Linked DNA regions of Homo sapiens: all the other regions are linked to region 4. Evidence: promoter capture Hi-C in human tissues and cell types (Jung and others, 2019). All regions are on one chromosome and are shown on one strand. The core of a region is centred on a gene start or on the middle of the fragment in contact, and the rest is flanking DNA. Distances in the headings are between cores, read along the strand shown.

What was found. Contacts are between HindIII fragments. The study calls those that stand out against the background at their distance.
Region 1: a contact is called between a fragment that was not itself captured here and the fragment with the promoter of RORB in region 4, in 5 of the 25 tissues and cell types used here (dorsolateral prefrontal cortex, heart left ventricle, lymphoblastoid cells and 2 more).
Region 2: a fragment that was not itself captured here is called in contact with the fragment with the promoter of RORB in region 4 in 3 of the 25 tissues and cell types used here (dorsolateral prefrontal cortex, lymphoblastoid cells and mesenchymal stem cells).
Region 3: a contact is called between a fragment that was not itself captured here and the fragment with the promoter of RORB in region 4, in 1 of the 25 tissues and cell types used here (dorsolateral prefrontal cortex).
Region 5: a contact is called between a fragment that was not itself captured here and the fragment with the promoter of RORB in region 4, in 2 of the 25 tissues and cell types used here (H1 embryonic stem cells and dorsolateral prefrontal cortex).

What each region holds. Positions count from the first base shown.
Region 1 is chr9:73,632,420-73,635,119 of GRCh38, forward strand. No RefSeq gene overlaps it. Among named protein-coding and RNA genes, the nearest start is that of ANXA1, 480 kb to the left of the region's middle. The HindIII fragment of the contact is 4,485 bases long and covers 1-2,700 here.
Region 2 is chr9:73,870,462-73,873,161 of GRCh38, forward strand. It overlaps the pseudogene LOC100420008. Among named protein-coding and RNA genes, the nearest start is that of RORB, 630 kb to the right of the region's middle. The HindIII fragment of the contact is 7,230 bases long and covers 1-2,700 here.
Region 3 is chr9:75,023,357-75,026,194 of GRCh38, forward strand. The region is part of intron 1 of CARNMT1 (carnosine N-methyltransferase 1); the gene reads right to left. Among named protein-coding and RNA genes, the nearest start is that of CARNMT1, 3.5 kb to the right of the region's middle. RefSeq lists an enhancer at 726-775. The HindIII fragment of the contact is 3,046 bases long and covers 1-2,838 here.
Region 4 is chr9:74,495,907-74,498,696 of GRCh38, forward strand. It overlaps RORB (RAR related orphan receptor B), which reads left to right and starts at 1,429. Exons shown (of 10, transcript NM_006914.4): 1 at 1,429-2,077. The coding sequence starts at 2,071. It overlaps RORB-AS1 (RORB antisense RNA 1), which reads right to left and starts at 2,647. Exons shown (of 5, transcript NR_125791.1): 1 at 2,336-2,647. RefSeq lists silencers at 1,065-1,277, 1,273-1,462, 1,367-1,661. The HindIII fragment of the contact is 7,823 bases long and covers 1-2,790 here.
Region 5 is chr9:73,792,712-73,795,411 of GRCh38, forward strand. No RefSeq gene overlaps it. Among named protein-coding and RNA genes, the nearest start is that of ANXA1, 640 kb to the left of the region's middle. The HindIII fragment of the contact is 4,480 bases long and covers 1-2,700 here.

The DNA of each region.
Region 1 (2,700 bases), core at 75-2,574, 860 kb before region 4:
CCCCTTTCTTTTTAGACAATAATAAACATTATGCCTTGTATGTGTACAGTTTGGTGGAATAACTCAGTATTCATTTAAAGGTTTTGGATATTACAAGTGTCTTAAATGTGAGAAAGTGTCTCAGATTTAGATCTATCATTGTACCTGTTATCTCTCAGACAACAGAGCCATTAGCAATGAAGGGCTAACTGCTGATCACATATTTTTTATTATAAAAATCTTTGTAGAGACAGCATTTCATGGAGAAGCTTGAACATTGCTTGAACTGGTAGTAATTTCAGAAGAAATAAGTGATTCGAAGAAATATAATGGTGAATATATTCTATGGCCAGGCAGCAGTGATAGAAGGATCTCCTTTGACCCTATGACAATTGTTATTGATTATCTTGTGATGAAAATGAACAACTGTAATTCCTAGATAATTTAAATACATATTTCTACGTTATGCTTGGCTTTAACAGCTGTCTGTGTGTATATATGTGTGCATATCAATTTTAATCAGTCCCGTGGGACTAGAGAAATTAATGTCCTCTGATTTTTTTTATGTTTTATTGTGGATTGATAATGAGTATGTTTATACACCATTAGTAATACCAGCAGCAATATTTTCATAGCTGGCTGATTTTTAATTTGGGTTATATTGAGTACATTCAATATATTTCAACAAGAACATAATAGCTAAGGATGAGTGCCTGTAAAGGCTCTTCTTTGGATCTATTCATATTTTTGATCAACCATACCAACAGTTACTTTGTACACTCCTTCATGCCTATAAAATTATGTAACAATGTCCAATAGTTCTGAAACTATATCATAGATTTTCAATATGTACAACTGACCCTCAAATTTTCTAGTTTAAATAACTCTCTATCTTAGCTTAACAGGATGATCAATGATGCTGAAACAGGGTGGATGCACATAAGAGAGGAATCAGTGTTTTGATGTCATGGTTTCAAGCCAGATGATAAGACAAATGTTACATCAGGCACTTTGATGGAATGTTTCTGGAAATCAATAAACCTTGAATTTCTGACCCTTAATTTACTATGGACAAAATGATATCTATAATAAGCAGATAAAAGTGGTAGTCTTTCTATGTCTCAAAAAAAAGATATCATATATATAACCCTGTAGTTTGTGATCCATCTTTCTATGTATATAAGCTTATAATGAGGATGCATAGCTATTTATAAGCTAAGAAATGTAAGAATTAATTATATATATAACTATTGAATTAAAAATTAAGCATATTGCTTTTATGCTCTCATTCAACATGCATGTATTAATGGTCATATATGTACACATGTATGTATATATGAATGTAAGTGTATACATATATGGTTGTGCACATGCACACGTGCATATATAACTTGTGTCAGAGTTGCCATACAGTGGTATCATTTACACTGTATTCTATAGATCTGTGTGAAATGGAAGCCCTGTCCCAGATGCCGTATAAACACTGGTAAATATAATCAATATGGTGTCAATCCCCAATAATCAAAGTTCAGGAGAGATAAGAAAGTAAAGAACAAGGAAACAAACATAGAATTAGTATGTGTGATGTACCCTGAAGATGATAATATTAATATAAAAGAGTGGTCAAGGGAAGCTAAATTATAGAAAGTGGCAAGGGAAAGCTTTATTAAGAAAGCAAGACTTGAAGTTTGAGAAAGAACCAGTCAAATGAAGAGCGTGGAGACTGAGTATTAAAGGCAGGAGGGAAAACATGTGTTCAGAGAACACTGAAGCAGGAAGGATTTTAACAACATTGAAATTATCAAAGAATACCGACACAGCTGGAGAAGAGAGAGGGTAAAAAAAGACCTTAAAATGATATTGGTGATGTGTCTAGTGGCTGGATCATACAGGTCCTTGTAAGGTATATTTAACAGTGTGGATTTTATTCTTAATGCAATGTGGAGCCACTGCCAGCTTTTAAGTCTGAGAGTAGTAGCTTAAATAATTGACTCTGGATATTGTGTAATGAGAGCCTGAAGCAGAGATAAAGTAAAAATGGGAATAACAGTTAAGAAATCATGGAATCAATCCATGTAAGAGATGACAGTGGCTTTACTGTGATAATGGCAATGGAAATAGACATATTCAAATACTATTTTGAGGACAAAAAATGTCAGAAATTGGTAAATTATGTGATTATTTATCATATAATTTATGTGATTACTTATCACAACCCATCTAAGCTATTATCAATTTCTGGCATAATAAACAATAGCTATGCCCTCACAAAAATATCATAAAAAAGAATGAATTATAGGTATTATTAAAATATACATTTTTTTATGAGCAAAAGAAACCACATTTTATTCAAAGGTCTAAAACAGAAGTGTCTAGCCTGGGAGAGTAATGGGCGATCAGACGAGTAATGTTTACTTTTAATATGTCAAAAATGTTTCAGAATTAATGAATTTTCTTTGATGAGGCAACTTCAAATATCTTTGCTTAGGATGTTTAGGGCTTGACATGGAAAACTTTGTTTAGCTTTTGATAATGTATTTATTGTCTGTATATGATTCATCATGATGAGAATATTATGGATTCCCTTTAAATATTATCCAGTGTGTGTGTATACATGTGCATATATATGTGTTAATAAAGTAATGTATGCTTATAAAAACAAAACATATTTAAAGGAATAAAGAATAAAATAAAAACATTTAAAATTCTTCTATCCAGAGA
Region 2 (2,700 bases), core at 181-2,680, 630 kb before region 4:
GTCTTATAATTGTAATTGTTGGTTTCTCTTTTTTCTCTGTTATACTGGAATGACTTTGAGGGTAGGACATGTGCTTTTCACATAGTAAATGCCTATTTTAATGATTAATATACTAATGTCATTTAATGTCAAATAAAATAAACTAGGCTGGAGTAAAATGGACCTCGTTGTTTTCCTCTAGCCTGAATGGCCCAGCCCCTGACCCTGAATCACTTTTACTAGTTTCTTTTATTTCCATTCTTTCTTTCTTTTTTAAATTGATTGAGTTATTGGATATTTATTGAGTATCCACTATGTATCAGGCAAAAGGAACAGAAACAAATGGTCTGTTCAAAGTTACTTTTAACTCTTTCAGCAATGTCTCATCATAAAAAAAAAAAAAAAAACCATTCTTCTGAGAGTACACGTTCATTATCTGGTTACTCTTCATACACTCAAGTGTCCTTCCAAATACTGCATAATGCTGAGACTACTTAACCTTCCAATCGTTGGCTGGGCTTGATGGCTCACACCTGTAATCCCAGCACTTTGGGAGGCCAAAGTGGGTGGATCATTTGAGGCCAGGAGTTAGAGAACAGCCTGGCCAACATGGCAAAACACTGACTCTACTGAAAAAATACAAAAAATTAGCTGGGTGTGGTAGTGCCCACCTGTAATCCCAGCTACTCTGGAGGCTGAGGTAGGAGAATCACTTGAACTCAGGAGGCAGAGGTTGCTGTGAGCTGAGATCATGCCATTGTACTCCAGAGTGGGTGACAGAGCAAGACCCTATCTCAAAAAACAAATAATAATAATCCAATCATTGTCTAAAAGACTAGAGGAATTACCATTGTTTTCACCTCTGTTTGACAAAGCAGTAATCAATGGAGTAAAATCCTTCCTTTTAATGGCAGTGGAACAGCATGATACTTGATGGTGTCAGATGTCCATTTTTAGTAAAAAACAAACACTGGGCTATACATGCTATGCCAATCAGTGAACTTCTGAGAACACAGTTTTCCTTCCTTATATTATCTGAATACAAAGCATCAGTTACAAGGAGTTTGTAAGCAATTTTAGTAGGCTAAAATCAAAGTGCAGTCAATGATGCATATGTCTTCAAAGTATCAGAAACTTGAAGCAGTGTCTGTAAATGAAGTTTGCCAATACTCCAGAGCAACTGAGGCAGTATAGGGAAGAGACTTGATCCTGACAAGTCACATAGGTGAAATGGTAACCAAAGTCCGGATGGGTCTTACGTGCCTGGGTATATTCCCTCCCCTGCCTTCTTGCCTTCCTTAAGAAGCTAAACCAAATCACATAGCAGGAAGAGTCTCCTAACTTAGCTGACTGGGCTAAATTCCTAACCATAAAAGGAAAATCCTAACCATTTGTCTCTTTTGGGCAATGTTTGCCGAAGTCACTGAAGCAACACTCTGGCATTCTAGATAAGAATCTGACCAGATGCAGTGGCATAAATACAAGATGGACTCTGGCGCTGTCCTTTCACTGACTCTCCTCATTACACTCTCATCATAATGCTAAATTCTTTGCCCAAGACAGGCCTTATATGGTCCTGCAGTGCATATTAGAGCATGACATCTTACTGCACAAGGCAGGAGAAAGGTCCACCTAAACATGTTTCTGCGTTATTCCCTTTTCTTGCCTCAGCTTCCTTAAAGTGACAAAGGCCAAGCCCCTTGGGGACCTGGCATCTGTTTCACTTTCCCCAGCACTCCTCCCTTGTGCATTGGAGACACAAGCTTACTAAACCTGAAACCGCCTTTGCAAAAATTATAACTGAGGAAATTATGACAATGAACGAGATCAGACCTAATCAACTTCATCTTGCTTCTAACCTTTAAGCTGTCCTTATTCATTCCTGGGCATAGGCTGAACTAACCTTGGGAAGGAGTTCAGTTTATAGTTTAACTCTGAAAACAAAATTGATAATATTCCTTACCTGAAAAACAAAAACAAACAAGTAAAAAAACCCTCCTTGCCTGACGACCAGTATGCCTTTGTAAGACTTACAAATTAGCTACAAGATTAGGAATTATTATTTAGGGGCCATTCAGTCCCTGGTTGCAAGAGTTTGAGCCTCTTCAAATTGCTCCTGTGAATAACATCAGTATTGTAACACCTAAGATCAATGCTTGAGATATTTTGCAGATCCTGCACTCATGCACCAGCTGACACCACCCAGACAGGTAATCTAACTCAACCCCTTCTGCAATCCCACCAGGAACAGAAGACAGCAACAAAAACTCACTTAGACTCCAGATGATTCCATCTCTAAACTTACTAACCAGTGTTTCCCATTTCCGGAGCCCCTACCCACCAAATTATCTTTAAAAACTCAGATCCCTGAATGCTCCAGAGACTGATTTGAGTAGTAATAAAACTCCGGTCTCCCACACAGCTGGCTCTGCATGAATTACTCTTTTTCTATTGCAATTTCCCTGTCTTCATAAATCTGCTCTGTCTAGAGCCGATAAATCAGCAGCGGGCAAGGTGAACTGCCCACTGCCTAGTGGGCGGTTACAAACTTTTCCTGAAGGGAAAAAAATACCTCCCTTTGGTCTCTTATTTTTACTTACACAAGAGTCAAAGTACTCAGGGTTCCTGTGCGGTAACAAAACCAGTTTTTGTTCCAAGTAACACCATTCCATATACATTTAACGTCGTTTATTTTGTAAGATATTCAGTTTGTTTGTGTGG
Region 3 (2,838 bases), core at 202-2,701, 530 kb after region 4:
AATGTTCAGTTATATTCCCACGGGTGCCACTTTTGGTTTTCCATGGAGACTACTTATCACCAAGTAATATCAAGGTTGCAAGGGTGAGTTGAGATAAGTTATAGATTGGTTACAAGAGCTGTCAATTTTTGATACAGAAGTAACTACACAGAGCAGGATGAGATCCTTAAACCCCTGGTTACTTAATGGTGTGCAAAGCTGCCATAACATACATCCACCAGTGACTCTTAAAATAGGTGGGATCTTACTAAAGTTGAGAATATAGTCCAATCCTTATTATACCCTTATAACTGGGGCTAACTTCACTATCCTGCACATGCTTACGCTATCAGAATTGCTTTAAGGCAGGGGCCCATTGGCTACCTGGTTTTTGTACAGTCTTATTGGTACAAAGCCACACTATTTGATTACACAAAGCCTAAGGCTCCTTCCATTCAAGGGCAGAGTTGATGAGTTGTAACAAGAGACCACTTGGCCTTCAGAGCTTAAAATATTTACTGCCTGGCCCTTTTAAGAAACTCTGCCAAACCTGCTTTGAAGGAGTATTTTACAAAAATCAGACTCTCCTTGGTTCTGAACTAAGTCAGCATCAGGAGGTGACATCCTCTTGCTGATAAGAGGAGAAAGTAAACTTAGTAGCCATTTTTCCCCAATGGTGGTATCTCTACCTCTAACTCTCTCTAGAAACCTGGTGTCAGCAGTGACCTCAACTCTGATTTAGTCACCTGTCATCAGGGTGAGCCCACACCAGGTCTGATCTAAAGGCCATGGTCACAGGCCCATTCCTCTGCACCTAGTTGAACTACTCTAGGAAATCCAAATAGAAAAAACATAACTTGTCAGAAACAAAGCCTGGCCTGTCTTGATTCATTTTAAATCTTTATTAAATACCTAACATTAAATTTGTGTTACTAGTATAACTCCTCATTAATGCACAGTAAAATTTTAGGTAACGATTTTGGATTTTAGGTCAGATTCTACCACAACTGGATTGTGTAACCCTGAGCAAGTTGCTTACCGCTTTGTGTCTATCCACATCCTCACCTGTAAAAATCAGTTCTAAATCTCAATATTAAAAAATCTCACCCCGTTATTTCTAAAAGTAAGAAGTTTCTGAAAAGACTTTCAGCTTTTCAACTCTAGTGTTTTCTATGTGCTGAGGTGCTTCATTCGTAACAAGACTGGGTTATAAAACTAACATTTTTGCTATTCAATACAAATGAGCTATATCCATTTTTACCTTAATGAGAATGTCATCTAAGCAAAATCTGTGGGAATCACAAAATTGAAACCCATTAGAAAGAGAAAATATTAATCAAAAGACATTCCTTGCTTTATGACCTTTTATCTAAATCTCCTACGTATTAACTAAAAGACATTTTGCAGTAAAATTGAACCCTGCAAAATCTGGACGTACAGCTGACCCTTGAACAATACTTGGGTTGGGGCACCAACCCCCTGTGCAGTCGAAAACCCACACCTAACTTTGATTCACCAAAAACTTAACTACTAATAGCCTACTACTGACCGAAAGCCGTACCAATAACATAAACAACTGACAGATATGTTGTATGTTAATATATTACGTACTATATTCTTACAATAAAGCTAAGAAAATATTAAGAAAGTCGTAGGAAAGGGAAAATACATTTACACTACTGCACTGCATTTATCAATACTATAAGTTTACATAATTTGATTACAAGATGAATCCTCTGTCTGAAATGGGGTTGGGGGGCAACCTCCAACTGCAGACCTCTATCTACAGTACATATCAAACAAATCAACTTTTTCTTGTAATGTCTTTTTTCTCTGCTTCTTGGGAGCACCTGCAGCATCACCAGTGGCACGTCATATGGGACCCATGGTGTTATTTAAGGTTTATGGTATTGCATTAAATTTGATGAAATCTGTTTACTGCTATATGCAATTTACTTGACAGACAAAAGCAGAGTGATTATTTTAAGAAGATACTGGTAACATCTGAGCTTACTGCAAAAGCAACAGGAAGTGGCTACAAAATTATTACAGTAGTACAGTATCTACTACAGATAATTTTATGCAACTAAGATTTAATGCTACATCTTTGCTTGTTTACATTTATCTCAATTGCAAATAGCTCCATGTAAGATCTGTGTTTGTGTAAGTTTTGATAAATTTTAACTTTTTATAATAGATTTGTGTATATTTTATGGTAGTAAATGATAAACTAGTATCTACACATATGCATTCATGGCATAATTTTTTCTTAATTTTTTCACTATTTCTAGGCTATGCAAGTTTGCTAAGTTTTTCAAATTGTTGCAAATGTCAAAACAATTTTCCAATATGTTTATTTCAAAAAATTTGTGTATAAGTGGACCCGTGCAGTTCAGATCCATATTGTTTAAGGGTCAACTGTACTTGCTAAATGTGTAGAACCGGATTGTCCATCACAACCTACTTCGATAATGGAAAAGCTTTTATTTGCACTGTCCAGTACAGCAGACTCTAGCCACATGTAGCTATTGAGCACCTGAAATATGGGTAGTGAAACTGAGCAACTAAATTTTAAAGCTTATTAAATACTAATTAATTTTAGCTTAAATTTATCCAGATATGATTAGTGGCTACAGTTTAAGTCTAGAAGATCACAAAATATTAGAATGTAACAATCCACTGTTCTCTGCTACATAAACTTTCTGTACCCCTAGGCTTTAAGTGACATTTTAAAAAGCATATTTTTGATGTTATACTATTTTCAGCCCAAGTATTTGAAGTGTTTCAAGAGAGTATATACAAATAAAAACTGTTTTTTTTAAAAAATGAAATGTCCTGAATCCAACATTACGCTGGTAA
Region 4 (2,790 bases), core at 179-2,678:
AAAATTTTCCTAAATTACACATTGGTTTGCAAATGGGATGGCATATAGCAGGGCTACGTCAATTTAATACTGGTGAAAATTCAGCAGATAATTCATTTTTCATTTAATCAGGAAGGAAAAAACTACTTGGCAGTGTAGAGCGACCTAATTAACTAAATAACTGCCAATTCTACATTGTACTTTGTGTTACATGACATATCATGAATAAATACCAGTCAAAAATCAAATTATTTGGATACTTAAATGATGATGAGGCCTGCTGTGCCAACAGGTATGCTAATGAGTAGACATCTCCCAGCCTCAAGACTGAGTGAATGAGGCAAATATTTTCACCTCCCAATCTTTTAGGGTGTTCAATTAACTCAAGTATTTAAGAAGTTCCCTACTATTGGGAAGGAAGTAGATGTAATCATCTATATGCTTATTTTGTCAACTGAGTTGGAAAAACTTGCAAAGGAACAGTTTGGATATATGTATTAGATTTTTATCAAAATACAAATAAATGGTCATAGATGACAATTTTCACCTAAGGAATACAAGTAAGTTTATCTATGTTCAGTTACCAATCGCCTCTAACTAAAGTTAACAATGTCTTCCTTCTAAAACCTTTCTAAAGAGCACCCTGCAATCACACCTTCTAGCAACAGCCATTTCTCTTGAATTAGTAAGGTGGCTACACCGCCAATTTGAGCTGTTCTCCTTCAGTCCTGTAGTCCATCGCCAGGGGAGTCTCCAAATGCTAATAAAAATCAATTTCCCAGACAAAAGAACATATACACGTTTTTTTCTTTCTTTCTTTCTTTTTTTTTTTTTTTTAGAAGAGGGTCAGGGAGCATCTGACGGACGTTTTTAAAGGAAGGGGACAGCTACTTCCATGGGACTGCATTTTAGTTGTGCTAAAAGTGATGAAAGTGGGTTTGCATTATTCTACCACCAACACCCAAACCACCTGCCCACGGAAACCCCCGCCGGAGACCGAAGTTTACCCAAATAGCGCTCGGCAAAGCGCTGCCATAAATTCAAAACTAACTCTGCCGGGCCCGCGGGGGTTGCGAGACAGGGACCGAACGTGAAACCCGGGGAGCCCCGCGTCTCTTGCCTCCGAAGGTTTTCCGTGATCAGTGTCCCCTTCTCTGCTGGAGTCGGAAGTGCCTGTCACCTGCGGATCTGCCCGACTCTCCCGGTCGGCCCTTCTTCTCTGCCCAGTTCGGACAGTCTCGAATTCCCCGTCGCAGCCCCGGCCACCTCGGACTCCCTGGTCCCCAGCCCCCGCCCCACCCCCCGCCTCCACCACGTCCCCTCCCCGCGGTCCCAGCCTCTCCAGGCGCTGCTGGGCTCTGATTGGCGGCTGCGCTGACAGCAGGCGGGGCCTGGAAGTCGCGGCCAAGCCCGCCCTCGCGTATAAGCCCCTCTCAGCGCTCTCTCTCCATCTCTCCCCTCTCTTTCTCTCTCGCTGCTCCCTTCCTCCCTGTAACTGAACAGTGAAAATTCACATTGTGGATCCGCTAACAGGCACAGATGTCATGTGAAAACGCACATGCTCTGCCATCCACACCGCCTTTCTTTCTTTTCTTTCTGTTTCCTTTTTTCCCCCTTGTTCCTTCTCCCTCTTCTTTGTAACTAACAAAACCACCACCAACTCCTCCTCCTGCTGCTGCCCTTCCTCCTCCTCCTCAGTCCAAGTGATCACAAAAGAAATCTTCTGAGCCGGAGGCGGTGGCATTTTTTAAAAAGCAAGCACATTGGAGAGAAAGAAAAAGAAAAACAAAACCAAAACAAAACCCAGGCACCAGACAGCCAGAACATTTTTTTTTCACCCTTCCTGAAAACAAACAAACAAACAAACAATCATCAAAACAGTCACCACCAACATCAAAACTGTTAACATAGCGGCGGCGGCGGCAAACGTCACCCTGCAGCCACGGCGTCCGCCTAAAGGGATGGTTTTCTCGGCAGAGCAGCTCTTCGCCGACCACCTTCTTCACTCGTGCTGAGCGGGATTTTTGGGCTCTCCGGGGTTCGGGCTGGGAGCAGCTTCATGACTACGCGGAGCGGGAGAGCGGCCACACCATGCGAGGTAAGCGAGTCTGCGGGCACCGAGGCTCCCCGAGTCCGGCCAACTCCAGCCAGACGGGGAGATGGGGGAGGGGAGGGCACCCAGCAGAAAGGGAAAGAGGTTGCCCAGGCGCAGTTCCCCGAATTCGCTCTCGCAGGTGGGGCTGCAAATGGCCTGGGCGTAGAAAGTTGCGGGAAGGTGTTGATGTCTTTCGGGAGTTCTGGAGGGACGCGGGAGGGCGCTTTTTTGGAGAGGGGAGACAGGCTAGTTGGTTCTTACCAGTCCTTGAGTTGCACTGAATCTTTTTTGCTTGTCGCTCTCGGGTGCGGAAGCGGACGCGGGATGGAGAAAGCCGAAAGAGGGATGCCTCTGGACAGGAGCAGTTTGGAAGCGCCCGGCGCGCAGTGGTCGCCGGCCGGGTTTGGGCGCGCGGGGCGCACCGGCCGGGGGCAGGGTGGACACGCGCGGGCACACACTCGCCAGGTTACGAGGCCCACTAAGCGTCCTGGCCAGCAGGCATGTCCCTTCGCTGGAGTAGCAAGCAGAAGAGCAGTGCTGCGAGGCTGGACGCGGCTGAGGAAACAGTTAGTTCCCCGGCACGCGGCTGAGGAAACAGTTCTGCGGCGCGCGCCTTCGTGCCGGCGCTGCGCCCTGGCCAGGTCCTCGTGCCCGAGCCCGCGCGGCCCAGGGAGTAGTGCGACCCCGGAAAAGTTGTAATGAGAAAGTTCTGGAGG
Region 5 (2,700 bases), core at 153-2,652, 700 kb before region 4:
AATCATTAGTTTTATTTGATCCTTGCCAATGTATTTGGAGTAGCTATGTCAAGTGTTGTTAATGGCATTTAACAAATGAAGAGAGTGAGGATGTCAAAAGTGAAATCACATATTAAGTGCAAAGTTGAAACTGGTATCCACATGTTTCTTTAAATTTAATGACTCCTATAACACAGGAAAGTAATGGCAGTAAACTGTAATGGCAAATACAGCCAGAAAGGAAAATATGGTGGTAATAATAGAAATGGGCATAAATAAAGTGTGTATTCTGTGTTTAAAATATCATATCATGTTTAATATTACTAACAATTTTATGAGGGAGAAAATCTTATCGCCAATTATCAGAGGTCAAATCCAAAAGGTTAATTTGCTCAAGGTCATAAAGCCAATCATTTTGGATATGTGATATAATATTTTCAACTCCAAGACAATCAAAACGAAGACTCCTTAAAATCTGATAGGAGATTGTCTTAAAAACTAAAATGTGTCCATTTATCTGAGATTTGAAACCCAATCATTTAAAATAAATATTTGAAGTTAGAGAGTTGTGTTTTCATATCCTTGTCAGTTGTCCATTTTTGCCAGTCTAGAAAAGGGGGAAAAATTCTTCCAGAATTTTTAGAAAATCAATATCAAGAGCAACTGGTTCTCGGCTTTTTCTTAGACAACTGATGTTTATATTAGTTTCATTTTCATTACTATAAGTTACCACTGAAGTTTTCCTACCCTGCCAACCACTCACATCTATTATTTTGTCCTATAAAATTAGAAAACAGAACAAAAGAAAGGAGAAAGTTAATATATCCTGTGGTATGGGATATTGTTGCTTTGAACATATTAAGACAGAATTTATGGGGAACCAGATTAATTTTAAGAAACTCCCTGTGGGTTCTGTTTGTTGTTTTGAATCGCTTTAATAGTAAACTTGCATTATTTATGTTTATTAATATTTAGAATGCACTCTGCAAGGATGATTTTCATCTGAGTTATAATTAGTCTCAGCTGATGAATGCAATAAAATGATTATAAACAACTTTGTGAGATCATTATCAGTGTCGTGGGAGAAAATGTTAAAACACTGTTCCAATGTTTTACCTTCAGAGATCCACTGAAATGAGTTTCAACCCATTTAAAACCTTACATACATCATTATAAATTTATACTTTCTCTCCTGAAGTTATTGAACTTTATGTACTGATTCACTCTTCCAGAATCCAACTGACATTTCTTCTGTCTAAAATCTTTCTTCTGTCTAAAAATCTTCAAGCATTCTTTGTTATTCATTTCTGAATCTAAAGATATGTTCTTTGTGAAATATTTAGAAAATAAAGAGTTATATAAATAACTACATAAACATTATCCATAAAATTATCATGCAGAGATAATAACTCTTGGCTTTTAAACATATTTTATTTAATTAGGACCTGCGATGATTTATGTGGTTGTGTGGTTTATGTATGGATATATGCATTTTACATAATTGAGTTGATATTTTATGTATAATATCCTAGGAGTTATTTTCACTTGACACCAAGTAAGAACATTGTTTATTTCTTTTAATAGTTTTTGAAAACTTTTTTTTTAACTAACTAAATAATTTGGATAATATTATAGTGAAATTAACCACTTCACTCTGGTATCTTTAAGTAATGTTTTTGATTTGTCAATGAGATGAATAATAATATAATGGTAATAGTAATAATAGATTGTTATTTGAATATTTCCTCTGCCTAAATAAATATGACTTTAGAAATGAAGCTTACCACAACATTTTTAGGGCTTTTTATATATATTGTAAAGTTATGGTTCAGAAAAGTTTTATCTATTTGCATGACTACCAGTATTTGAGAGTACCCGCCTTAAGTGCACTAAATATTATTGGTAACATTTGCGTAGTTGATCAATGTAAGAGTTTGTTCATTTTATATTTACTCTATTTTCTTTAGTTATTTGTAAGAAGGATTTTTTTCCTTTTTCAAATAACCATTTTTAATTTTACCAAATATGTACATTACATATTTAAACTGTTACATTTTCTAAGAATAGACTTTTCAGAATTTTAGTTAATGTATTTTGTTGCTTATATTTATAAGAATAAATAATGAGGCTCCTTTTTAATGTTTTGATACTATTAGTAGCAGTAGTACCAATAAATATATACTTTTTACTTCTAATTTCTTTGATTTTGTTTTATTACTTTGTTTTTTAACCAAAAGCATAATCTGCATTTTTCTTTTTTAAAAAACATACAGTTTTTGAGTACATCTTTTGTGGTAGCTCTTAGTTTTGATAGGTTGTTTTTGCATTTTTATTTGCTAAAAGCTCAATAATTTTAGTCATGCAATGTGGTTTATTTGGGACAATTTGTATATTCAAGCAATTTGATTATTTTCTGTTGATACATTTTGATAATTAACTAATAATAATGAGAAAAACAGCATACTCAAATATTTCTATGGAGTTTTTACCCTAAATTATCATTTTTCTCTAAGCATTTTGTGCACATTTTGTGTTATTAAATGCAAGCTTTATTTTACTTATGTTATTGACTTGTTCCCACCGTATTAATTTCCTTCTTGTCATACCCATTGCAACACATGCTCCTCTGTTTTCTTTTATTCAGCCAAATCTCTTCATAGATACATAATTGTAAAATCCTAGGTAAGTGTTTCCTTTTCTCTATGTACTTTTACCAAATAG